3 separate regions of the Homo sapiens genome follow, and all the other regions are linked to region 1. The links are contacts of gene promoters, found by promoter capture Hi-C in blood cells and fetal thymus (Javierre and others, 2016). All regions are on one chromosome and are shown on one strand. Each heading gives the region's core, a stretch centred on a gene start or on the middle of the fragment in contact. The rest is flanking DNA. Distances are from core to core; before and after follow the strand shown. Region 1 holds the start of MYL12B (myosin light chain 12B). Region 2 holds the start of YES1 (YES proto-oncogene 1, Src family tyrosine kinase). Region 3 has its middle 1.9 kb from the start of ZBTB14.

The links. Contacts are between HindIII fragments. The CHiCAGO score rates a contact against its expected background, and 5 or more counts as called.
Region 2: the fragment with the promoter of YES1 here is called in contact with the fragment with the promoter of MYL12B in region 1 in 2 of 17 cell types (activated CD4 T cells and naive CD4 T cells); the score reaches 7.4 in activated CD4 T cells.
Region 3: a contact is called between a fragment that was not itself captured here and the fragment with the promoter of MYL12B in region 1, in 2 of 17 cell types (naive CD8 T cells and non-activated CD4 T cells). The highest score is 6.4, in naive CD8 T cells.

What each region holds. Positions count from the first base shown.
Region 1 is chr18:3,260,077-3,263,672 of GRCh38, reverse strand. MYL12B (myosin light chain 12B) reads right to left here and starts at 1,540. Exons shown (of 4, transcript NM_033546.4): 1 at 1,436-1,540. MYL12-AS1 (MYL12A and MYL12B antisense RNA 1) reads left to right here and starts at 1,314. Exons shown (of 4, transcript NR_130145.1): 1 at 1,314-1,620; 2 at 2,343-2,401. RefSeq lists a silencer at 995-1,884 and an enhancer at 2,095-2,144. The HindIII fragment of the contact is 3,443 bases long and covers 130-3,572 here.
Region 2 is chr18:810,246-813,841 of GRCh38, reverse strand. It overlaps YES1 (YES proto-oncogene 1, Src family tyrosine kinase), which reads left to right and starts at 1,600. Exons shown (of 12, transcript NM_005433.4): 1 at 1,600-1,728. RefSeq lists enhancers at 398-939, 940-1,482 and silencers at 1,214-1,723, 1,774-1,833, 1,904-1,993. The HindIII fragment of the contact is 10,737 bases long and covers 1-3,596 here.
Region 3 is chr18:5,295,830-5,299,425 of GRCh38, reverse strand. It overlaps a transcript of ZBTB14 not described here. Among named protein-coding and RNA genes, the nearest start is that of ZBTB14, 1.9 kb to the right of the region's middle. RefSeq lists enhancers at 2,492-2,651, 2,369-3,054 and silencers at 2,862-3,281, 3,362-3,596. The HindIII fragment of the contact is 2,095 bases long and covers 203-2,297 here.

The sequences.
Region 1 (3,596 bases), core at 291-2,790:
GCCTTTGAATCTTGGGAGAAAGGGAAAACTAGCCCCATGTCGGGGCTCTAAATCCTGTTCTTTCCTAACCCTAGCAACTCTTGTCTGGACATCTGTCCTTCAGAAATTGCAGTTCATCTTGTTCAAGCTTAGTTTCATCAAAGCATAAACGAACATCGAGTCAGCCATCATAAAAGCTGTTTCACTCAAAAGAGCCTAAAGCACTCAAAAGTGCTCTTAGTTATAAAGTCCAGGAGGGTCCACCACCTTCGACAAATTACCTCACCTCTCTGGGTTTCACTTTCCTCAGTTATAAAACGCAAAGCCTTCACAAGGTAATCTATCAGGTCCTACTGAATTCTAAATGCTTTGATTCTTCTCTTACCAAAAGACCATTCCAAATCTACCTTAAACTAAAGCGGCCAAACGAATCCTCTAAACATCCCTTTCTTATTACTCCGTTAGTGAAGACTCCAAAATTACTCTCTATGGCTTCTTAGATAATCTTTTCTTTCTCCTAAGTTTTCAAGACATCCATAAGAAGGTCCTACTTACCTATCTACCCTTATTTCCGACTATTAGTCATTACAGTTCTGTTCCATACCCGCCGGTGTCCCCACGGCCTGCTTTTCACAGGACACAATTCCCAGCTTTTGAGTTTTGCTCGTTACCACCTCCCACACATCTAGCCGGAAACGCTAAGTTCTCCCTCTTAAGGTTGAATCCAAGGCCTTCAGTGAGGTCACGACTCTTTTCCAAGTAACCTTTCCCTATTTCTGTTAATGGTCCTTTCTTCAATCAACACGAATAAACTAAACCTTTACAAGATGCAAGACACACTGAGCGAATTACAACTCTATGTAAATCATCACATTTGAGCCCGTATCAACCACACACTCGGTTACCGGCATGCTAATGGCTTCCTTGGAGGCTTCACCTTAGGCAAGACCGTGCAACAGGAGGCTCCTCCACCCTCCAAAGCATCTAGGATAGTGTTGGGCACAGGGCAGGTGCTCCACACGAACACGCCCGGGTCGGCCCCAATCCACCGCCAGGACCCGCCGCGGCGCCGGGAGGGCAGGCGTTGGCCGCCGGGCAGCCGGGCCGTCCAAGGCCCAGGTGTCTGAGGTCACCCAGGTGGCGCAGGGCCGGCCCACGCACGGCCGGGACCCGGCCACTTCTCCAGCAGGGCGTCTCCCCATACCGGCTCCATCGCCTGCAGCCTCCCGGCCCCTGGACGTCCGGGCCAGGGCCTCGCCACCAACCCTCCTCCCGCCGCCAACCCTCCTCCCTCCACCTCCGGCCCCGCGCCCCCTTCTCAGCCAGTCTGACAGGTCCTGCCGCCGCCTGGCCGCCCTGGGGCGGGGTCCGGCCGCAGGCGCGCGACGGGAGGGGGCGCGGGGGTACGGAGACGGCGGCCCGAGGGGTCTCGCGAGCAGAGTCGAGCGCGACTCACCCGACGCCAAACACCAGAACCGGGGCCGCCCTGCGCGAGACCACAAACGACAGCGAAGAGCGTTAGGCTGTGGCCGGACAGTGGCGGCGCCGACACTTCCTGCCTGAAGGGGCGGAGCGGAAGGCGCACCGGAAGGCGCACCGGAAGGCGCACCGGAAGGCGCGGCGGGACCAAGTGGAACGGGGGTGCGCTGAGTGTTCGCGCCCGGGCCGGCGGGGTCTGCGTGTCCGCCGAGCGGCGGGGCTGCTGAGGCCGGACGCACACGGCCGGGGTCTTAATTGCCCCTCCGGCCTGCTCCGATCCGCTGCGATATCGCGGCCTGCGCTGCGGCGGTCGTCCGCAGCCCGGCCCTCGTCCCCCGCTCCTTTGGTAGCTCCGCCACCCTTCCGCATTCCTGGGCCCGCTGGGCGCGGCTGGGCAGGCCGCTGGAATTTGACCCGAGTGGGCCGCGATCGGCCGAGGATTTGGGGTCCCCTTTGACCCAGGCGGGGCGCGATCCGCCTAGGATTTGGGGTCCCCTGGCGCCGAACCCTGAGTTGCCAGATGTAGCAAGTAAAAGTACAGTTCTTCTAAATTTGAATTTCAGACAAGACAGGTTTTAGGGTTCGTCTCATGTAATGTTGAGAAGGTGAGGGCGGCGCCTGGGCGGATTCTTCTCCGTTCCAGAATCCCTTTCTCTTTTCAAACCGCATTACAGCCCGAGTTAAATTCTTTAACCTACTCCTCTCTGCTTACCCTCATAAGGTTTACGGCCGTATCAGGCTACGGCCGCAGCCTACGGCTGTTTGATTCCCCTTTTGGCCACAAGAAAGTTTTATTCGAACTACTTGCTTTCCTTTATCAAGAAAATGGCAACGCACACACATACATGCACACACAAATAAAAACACAAAGCTACGTTTTTCAGGTTTTGTTCTAGATCGTGTTTGTGGCTGTGTTCTTCAGGATATTTTCCCTCACCTTGAGGTAATCTAGCATTACTTCATCTAGCATTACTAAAATAGCATTACTTCAGGATGGTGGAGGATCGGCAATCTAATAGCAAATCTTTATTGAACTCTTCTTACTGCCTTAACATGTGCCGGATGCTGAGAGATGAATTCAAAGCCTCTTAGGGAGTTTATATTCTAGAAATCTTTGATCAGAAATTCCTAGAAGAGAGGGACCTTGTGTTCAGCACTCTGTAGCAGTTCTTAAACAGTAGCACGCATAATAACAGGGCTTTTAAAAACATTTTTGAGCCTCAAAACCGGGTATCAGGATTCAGTGAGTAAGGGGTGGAGGATAATTCGAATTTCTGGTAAGCACACATGATGCTGATGGGGTGGTCGCCATCCCAGCAGCACAGCTCTAAACGCGGTTCATAACTGTGTGTATTTTCTCAATAGTGTTAGAAAAGCAATTGCTGAAAAGTCACACCTGGTTCTACAATATTTACTCTTAGGTTTTGGTTCGATAGTCTAAATTAAAAAAAAAAAAGTTTCTAGAATTGTGCTGTCCAATACAATCGTCACTAACCACATGCAGCTAAACTTAAATTTAGTTCCTCAGTTGTATTTGATACGTTTTATTTTTAGAGATGGGGTCACCCTATGTTGCCTAACCTGGAATGCACTGGCTATTCACAGGCGTGATCATAATGCACTACAACCTGGAACTCCTGGCCTCAAGCGATCCTCTCACTTGAGCCTCCCAAGTAGTTGGGACTACAGGTGAGAGACACCGCACCAGTGCGTCTGGCAGTATTAGACACTTTTTTTTTTCTTGAGACGGAGTCTTGCTCCGTCGCCCAGGCTGGAGTGCAGTGGTTTGATCTCGGCTCACTGCAACCTCTGCCTCCCGGGTTCATGTGATTCTTCTGCCTTAGCCTCCCGAGTAGCAGGGACTACAGGCCTGTGCCACGACGCCCAGCTAATTTTTGTATTTTTAGTAGAGACGGGGTTTCACCATGTTGGCCAGGATGGTCTCAATCTCTTGTCCTCATGATCCGCCCACCTGGGCCTCCAAAAGTGCTGGGATTACAGGCGTGAGCCACCGCGCCTGGCTAGTATTAGACACATTTTAAGTGCTCAATAGCCACATGTGGTTAGTGTCCTTATTGTATGGCACAGAGAGCATTTCCTTAATTACAGAAGCTTCTATTTGACAGCACTATTCTGAA
Region 2 (3,596 bases), core at 351-2,850, 2.4 Mb after region 1:
TGCCCGGCCTATTTTAGAGGTGATTTTTGAGACTGAGTGTTTAGGAAGACGAAATTATCTCTATTTAGTGAAGAAAGGCAACAGCTCAAGGAATTTTCTATTTTAATAAAAGCTGAATATAGACCTACATAAAATTTTAAAGCCCTGAGACAGTCAATGACAAATGAAGTTTTAGTAGCTAAGAAAATACAGCATCGTTCCACATTATGTGTCTCTTTAACGCCTACGCCTACCTTTCGTTCATTTAGTGAGCTGAAGAAAAAAATGTTCAAACCCTTATATGCATTTCCTTAAGTTCCTAGAATACCGGAATACTGACACATATGATTGCACTATTTCCTATCCGTCGAAGATGATTCTGAATTTCACTAAAAACCGCAAAGGAAACCAATAGTCACAAAATAATTCTGATAACCCCACCAAAGAGGAAATAAAGAGAGGAAGTTACTCTAAAAGTCTGATAGGGCAAAAGTGACTGCAGCAGAAGGGCCTCAAGGTTCAGTCCATGAGGACCTTGATTAACCTTCATCTTTACGCCCCCACCCCATCCTTCCGGGTCCTCCCCCTTCTTCAACGACTGGCTTTACAAGGCTCATAGGAAAGGTGCGTGTATTCAGACGGACACGATTCCAGCTGTGGCTCCTCCACTTTCAGGGTCGCTGTTTCCACAGTTGACAAGCAGGAGAACCATACTTGTTGCACTTCCCTCACTGGGCTGCCGCCAGCATCATATAGAAAAACGCTGTCCCAACATAAGCCAAAGCCACCATGACTGGGATAGTCGCCAAACAGAACTCAGCTTCGGTTCCCCTCCCGGCAAGGCTGGTTCGACCTACAGTCAACAGGAAGCTCCTGGGGGCAGGGACAGGATCCCTGCCTCGGAAGGAGGCAAGACGTGAACGTTTTTTGGACGGCGATCAGGATGGTGATGAGGGTGTGAGTAACGCCCCCGGCTCACGCGGTTGGGCTTGAGATTTTACTACCAACGACAAAGGGTGCGGAAGCGTAGCGCTGAGAAGCAAACAGCCAACCAAAAAAACTCAACCCCGTCCTCCCCCACAAAAGCAAGCCCCAAAGCCCTGGCCACTACTGAGAGCTGGGCCAAGGAACAGAGAAAGGCAGAGGGGCAGAATCGGAGCGCTCCATTCAATCTCCGCGGCAGCCGAGCGTCGGTGGGTTCGCGGGTGGGAAGGGACGCCGCGGGCCTGCTCTCCGGGCAGGGAAGCACCTCCTCCTCACGCCCCCTCGGCCTGCACCGCCCCCGGGAATCCGCCCCGGACCCCGCCGCCATGTTGGGTCGGGAGAAGTGACACGGACCGGTCGCCTATCCTGACCACAGCAAAGCGGCCCGGAGCCCGCGGAGGGGACCTGACGGGGGCGTAGGCGCCGGAAGGCTGGGGGCCCCGGAGCCGGGCCGGCGTGGCCCGAGTTCCGGTGAGCGGACGGCGGCGCGCGCAGGTACCCGCAGCCCCCGCCCCCGCTAGAAGTCAGGGGGCGGGGCCGGGGGGGGGGGGCGGAGGAGGTGGAGAGTGAGGCCGAGGCGTGGGGAGCCCGGGAACTCCCTCCTCCTGAAGTAACGCGTCCCGGGCCGGCTCTGCCGTCGTTGCTGCCGCCGGGCGCCCCGGGACGAGGAGGTGGAGGAGGGAGAGGGCCCGCGGGCCTCGCCTCCGCCCTCCGCCACCTCGAGCTGCGGTAGCAGCGACTCATGAGAGCGCGGCCGGAGGACAGGTAAGGACCCGGTGGGGCCCCGCGGGCGGAGGGTTCCACCTCTGCCCGGACAGGGCTAGGCCCCAGCGCCCGGAGCCGCCGCCGCCGCCGCCGCCGCGGTTCCCCGCCCCCGCGGGCCCGAGTCGGGAAGTTGGGAAGAAACTTCTCCCCTCCCCCGGATCGCCCGGCGGGCTTGTCTCGTTCCCCGCGCTACCTGCTCGCCCCTGACTCGGTCTCTGCCCTGTCCAGACCTGCCGGGTCCCGCCCAAGTCCGACCTGAGGTTCCAGGGGCGTGGGGACACTCCCCACCCCTTGTCTTTGGGGTCGTGTGGACCGCCCGGCGACGGGGAGGAGAGGTTTATTTTTGCCCCTACGGCCGAAGTAGGGGCGAGGGAAGCGGCCCCTTTGGGTCCTAAAGGCTGGGGGTCTGTGTATCGGCCGACGCCGGTAGCAGCTGTGCGGGGAGAGGAGCGGGTGTGTGGGGCGAGTGGATGAGCCTTTCTGGCTTTACTTGGTTTGATTGAAAACCGCAACATGTTTAAAGTTTTCCTTTGTTTTGGGTTGGGGGTTGGGAAATTTACCATTCAGCGTCCACTTTTACGGAATCATGCCACTCCGCCTCCCGTTGCGTTCGGTTCCCTGTCCACATGTGTTAAAGAAAATTGTCTTAAAGTGTGTTTTTCTTCTTGATAATTGCTTCCAGCTTTCACTTTATTGGGCATGGGGCAGAGCTGTTTTAAGAAGCTCTTTGAAAATCAAGTCTGGTGTAGGGACTTTAGTTTTTGTTTTGTAATGAGTAGGACTTAACAGTTCGGATTTGGTTGAATCATTTTCTGCATAATTAATTGATACAGGCGTGGAATAACATACTGTATAATTATAAATTACTAAAGGAAATAATGAAAGTCTTTGGTGGAAGCACAATTTTATGTCCATTTATTATGTATATACGTTCCACGGGTGTGTGTTTTCACAGTCGATTTCACATGATATGATTATAGTATCTTCATGTATTATAACTGTAAGATTACAGTGCCAAAGATACCTTGATAATTTTAAATATTTAAACCATCCTGTTACACTTCTAAAGTTAAATTACGCACTAAGGAAAGTATTACTAAATGTATACACGTGACTGTGCATTTAAGGAAAAGTGCATGGTAAATCTAATATCTTAACTATCACAGTGCTTGGCACACGGTGGACAGGAAGCATTTTGAATGGTCAGGTAATAAAGGAGTATCTTGTATTAGCCAAGGATCTTGTATGCATCACTTACGATGTTCATATATTGTACAGTAAGAAAGTTTTACTTTAGCAAATAATATATATGGTTTTTTGGTTTTTGTTTGTTTGCTTATAAGTGTGAGACCCCTGCCACAATTGACATGTAAGGAAAGGAAGTTAAATTGTATTTTTATTTTTGGACATTAGCTAAAAGTCGGTGGAGATTTTAAATGCTGGTTGACAATTCAGAGGGTCCTACATTTGAAAAAGACAATTGCCTTTGATCTGAAAACAAAACAGTTTATATCCATGTTTCCAGGATAAAAGATAAAAGGGCTCTTAAAATATATACTCTGTTGTAACCACTGTAATGTTATAATGGCTTTAATTTCGTAGTTAGGTTTTGCTGACTTCATAAACCACAAAATTGATTCCTTTCTGTTCATCTGAAAGTGAAATTACAGCTTTGACCTGTCTTCCTGGGTTAGGTGGAATTTGTCTTGTGGTCGAAGTATAATATTAATACATGGGCTGTTTTTGTGTGTGTGTTTTAGTTCAGGAAATTCACAAGCTGAAAAATTAATGTCTATGCAAGTAAAATTTCTTCATGGTATGTATTGATAAAAGAATAAATGTGCTAAAAGACTAGAAGTAAACCTGTA
Region 3 (3,596 bases), core at 1-2,500, 2.0 Mb before region 1:
CACAAGGCCCTACAGGTGCTGGACACTGTTGTTCTCACAAACACATCTCATGTCCACTTTTGCAGAGACTGAGGTACTTCAAGCTCCTTCCACCCTTGCATTCACTTTGTTCCTGTCTCTGTCTTGAAATGCTATTTCTTCCCCCTCTTTGCGAATCTCTCCCTCATCTTTCAGGTCTTAAATGTATGCCTTTGAAGAAGCTTTCACTGATTTCCCAGGCAAAATTAATTCCTCCTGTTCCTCTTTTTCATCACATTCTGTGTTTTTTAACTTTCTATAAAAACACTTATTGCAATGTGCAATTGTGTAACGATGTGATTATTTGTTGAATGTGCACATCAGTATCTCCATGATGACACGGATTGGATCGGGTTTTTGTTCATTTGCTGTATCAAGTGTTCTCAGAGTCACAGGGGGAAGGTGGTTATGGCATTGGGTGTGACACTTTTCCTTGCACAGATGTATTAGATTTTGTTCAGTAACAAAGCATAAAACCCAACCTCCCAGTGGCTTATAAAACAAACATTTACTTCTCAGTCATAGGTCTGTGGGTGAGTTGTCTTCTCTCTAGGCTTGGCTGTGCTCAGGTTTTGGGTTGGCTTCATTCTCAGGTCTGTTTGTCATTCAAGGGCCCAAGCTGAAGAGGGGGTTGTGGCCTAACCATGGTCGTGTTGTGCTGGACGTCACAGCAGAGGAGGAGGCGCAGAACAAAGGCTGCTCTCAAAACCTCTACTCAGACCCGGCCCACTCTCATCTGCTGGTATCCTGCTGTTTCAAAACCAGCCAGAGGGCCCAAGGTCAACATGAGGGAGAAATCAACCTCCCCCGCCTGTGAGACATAATGTTTCCAAACGGTCCCTTACTGGGCTGCTCTGTAACCACATCAGACCCTGGCACCCGGGACTGCACACTGCGGGCCCCATGGCCTGGGCCTCACAATTCTTAGAAACAGGTTCCACTCAGGAGGCCATGGGTGTCCCAAGTGAGGAACAACGTGCTCCAAATGTCACCCATCAGAGTTGTCGGAAAAGGAGGAAAACTTTGTCAAGGACCTTGGGTCAGTGCATTTCAGGAAAGCCCTGCCCCCGCGTTGACGCCACAGTGTACTTTTACAAAGCCCCTTAGTATCAAATTCAAGGTTGTCACTTACTGTCCGCTGATGTTTATTGAAAGCCTCTTGGGTGCTGGGAAGTGCACTTTTGGGTGGCGACACAGGCGAGAAGCCAGGCTTGGGTCAGGCCTTTCCTTTGTGGTTTCCCATCCCTCCACCTTCCCACAGAGTTGTCCCTTTAATTTAGACTCATCCCCACAACCCCTGTGAACCAGCAAGGGACAGCCAGGCAGAGCCCAGGTGACATGAACATAAAACAAATGAGACAAGAGGATTCATTGATACAAAACCAGGATGTCAGGAACCGTCACTTGAGAAATGCATTCTAGTGCTTTAGAACTCTTGTGAATTATGTTATCGGGTTAGTGGAAACGTGGGAAGTCTTTTCCTAGCCATATGCGAAAAGATTGTCTTTACACAGTAGGCAGACCAAAAATACACGCAGAATGAGTGGGAAACCCCATATGTGGTATGGGAGAAGGGGGAGCGCCAGCAGCAGATGCGCCATGACTTGAGTACTGGCCGTGTCCACACATTGTGCTAACTGCAGTGGCTGCTTTACTGCTTGGTGACGCAACCCTATGACAGAGTACTATTATTATCCCCCTATAAACACACAGCATCCACAGGATTGAAATGCAACTTCAAGAGCTACGCAAACAAGAATAAAGCGAGTACACGGTATCATGTCTGATGAGTGTGAACTTTCGTGGCAGAAGACTTGGTTCTGGTTCTGTCCAGGCCACTGGAACCCACTATCTGTGGGTGCAGGTGATTTTCCATCATGGAGCTAATACCTTAGCTGGGCATTATTTCACTTAATCCTTACAAGTGCCTTATTAGGTGCTTTCCATAGCTCTCCTTCAGCTGAGGTTTAGAGAAGTTAAACAATTTACCCAATATGTGAACTGGATATGTCTGACTCTACAACCGGTCTCTTCCATCCTATTTCCTCCATATAAGCCGTAACTTGGGTGCTTTTGTGAACATCAAAAAAGATGCGTATAAAGTCGCCTTGGGGAACGTTAAACCAAAGTCAATTAACATTACAAAATCAACTGAGGCCATATAGAACTTCCTTTAGAAAATTAACACATCCAATCATCATATTATTTCCCAAATGTTTACTTAGGTGCCTGTTGCAAGCACTATCTTATGTCATCTTCAATAAGCCCAAGAGGAAGCTTCTGCTCTAATCTTTAGATATTAAATTACGCGTTTCGGGGAAACTTCGCGTGTGAGGTAAAGCAACATGAGCGACTCTAAGGCGGCGCGGCATTGCTGTCCGGCCTCCTGCATCTCGGTGAGCAGAAAACGCGGGAGCGGGAGGGACTTCCCAGCTCCCGACGCCAGACACAGGCACAGCCGCCGCGTCAGAGGGAAGGCGACGTGGTTCAACAGCAACGGAGCCATTACTGGCGCTGAGCAGGGATGTTAAGGACAGAGCCAAGTTATCAGAGCTCTCCGAATCGAGTCCAGGGTCTGGACTGCCACAGACGGGTCGCCGCCTCCAGCCCCTGGACTTTTCCTTGGAGTGTCCGGGCGCGGACCTACTAGCTCCGAAGCCCTATGGGTGATCCCTTTCTGCTGGGCAACTGGGGTTGCGCTTTACACTACAAATCGAAGACGTCGCTTTTTCCATTTGTTCTGCAAGTGTTTATTGTGCACCGTCCACTCCCCCACAAACTCAATGTGCCGGCGGCAAGAGGCAAGACCGCAGACCCGTGGGCGCGCCTCCCGGTGTCGGCCGGTGTGCGCGGAGGGCGAAAGTGGCCGGGGCGCCCGCTCCGAGACGCGGCAGAGCCCCGCAGCCTCAGCGCCCGGCCTGCGCGCGCCCGGGGGAGGCTCTGGCCCACGCACATGCACACGCACGGGAGCGCTGGCTCCCGCGTCCCCGGCGCTGCGCCGGCGCCGGGCGCGGGCGGAAGCCCACGAACCAGGGCGGGAGGGAGCTTGAGGCGGGGCGGGTGTCCGCGAGCAGCGCTCGTGCTTAAGTTCCCTGGCTCCCGAAGCCCCGCCCTTGCCCCGCCCACTCCTTCTCCCGCGCGCGGGCTCCGCGCGCCCCAAGCCGCGCGCGTGCGCGCGCGTGCGCAGGCCAGGGCCCTCCGGGGGCGGCCCCGTAGTCTCCAACGAAAGCGTCGGCAAGGGCCCGGATTAACCCTTTCTTTGCTCGCCCACTTAGAGACCCGGTCGGGTTCCGTGCCTGCGCAAGCCGGCGGCGCGCCTTCCCCCCAGCCCGCACCGCGCATGCACGGGAAGGGGGGGGCGGTGGGGGTGTTCACGGCCGGCTAGACATTCTGTGCTCGTGCAGGAGGAGGGCTGCTACCATCAGGGACGTGCACGATTTCCCCCACCCCGCCCCCTCCCCAAACTCCAAAAAAAAATCCAAAACACACTGCCACCCACCGTGCCCCCGCGCCCCGAGCCCCTCCGGTCCCGGCCTGCGTTTGCTAGCGAGCGCGGGGAACCCACGGCAGTGTCTGTG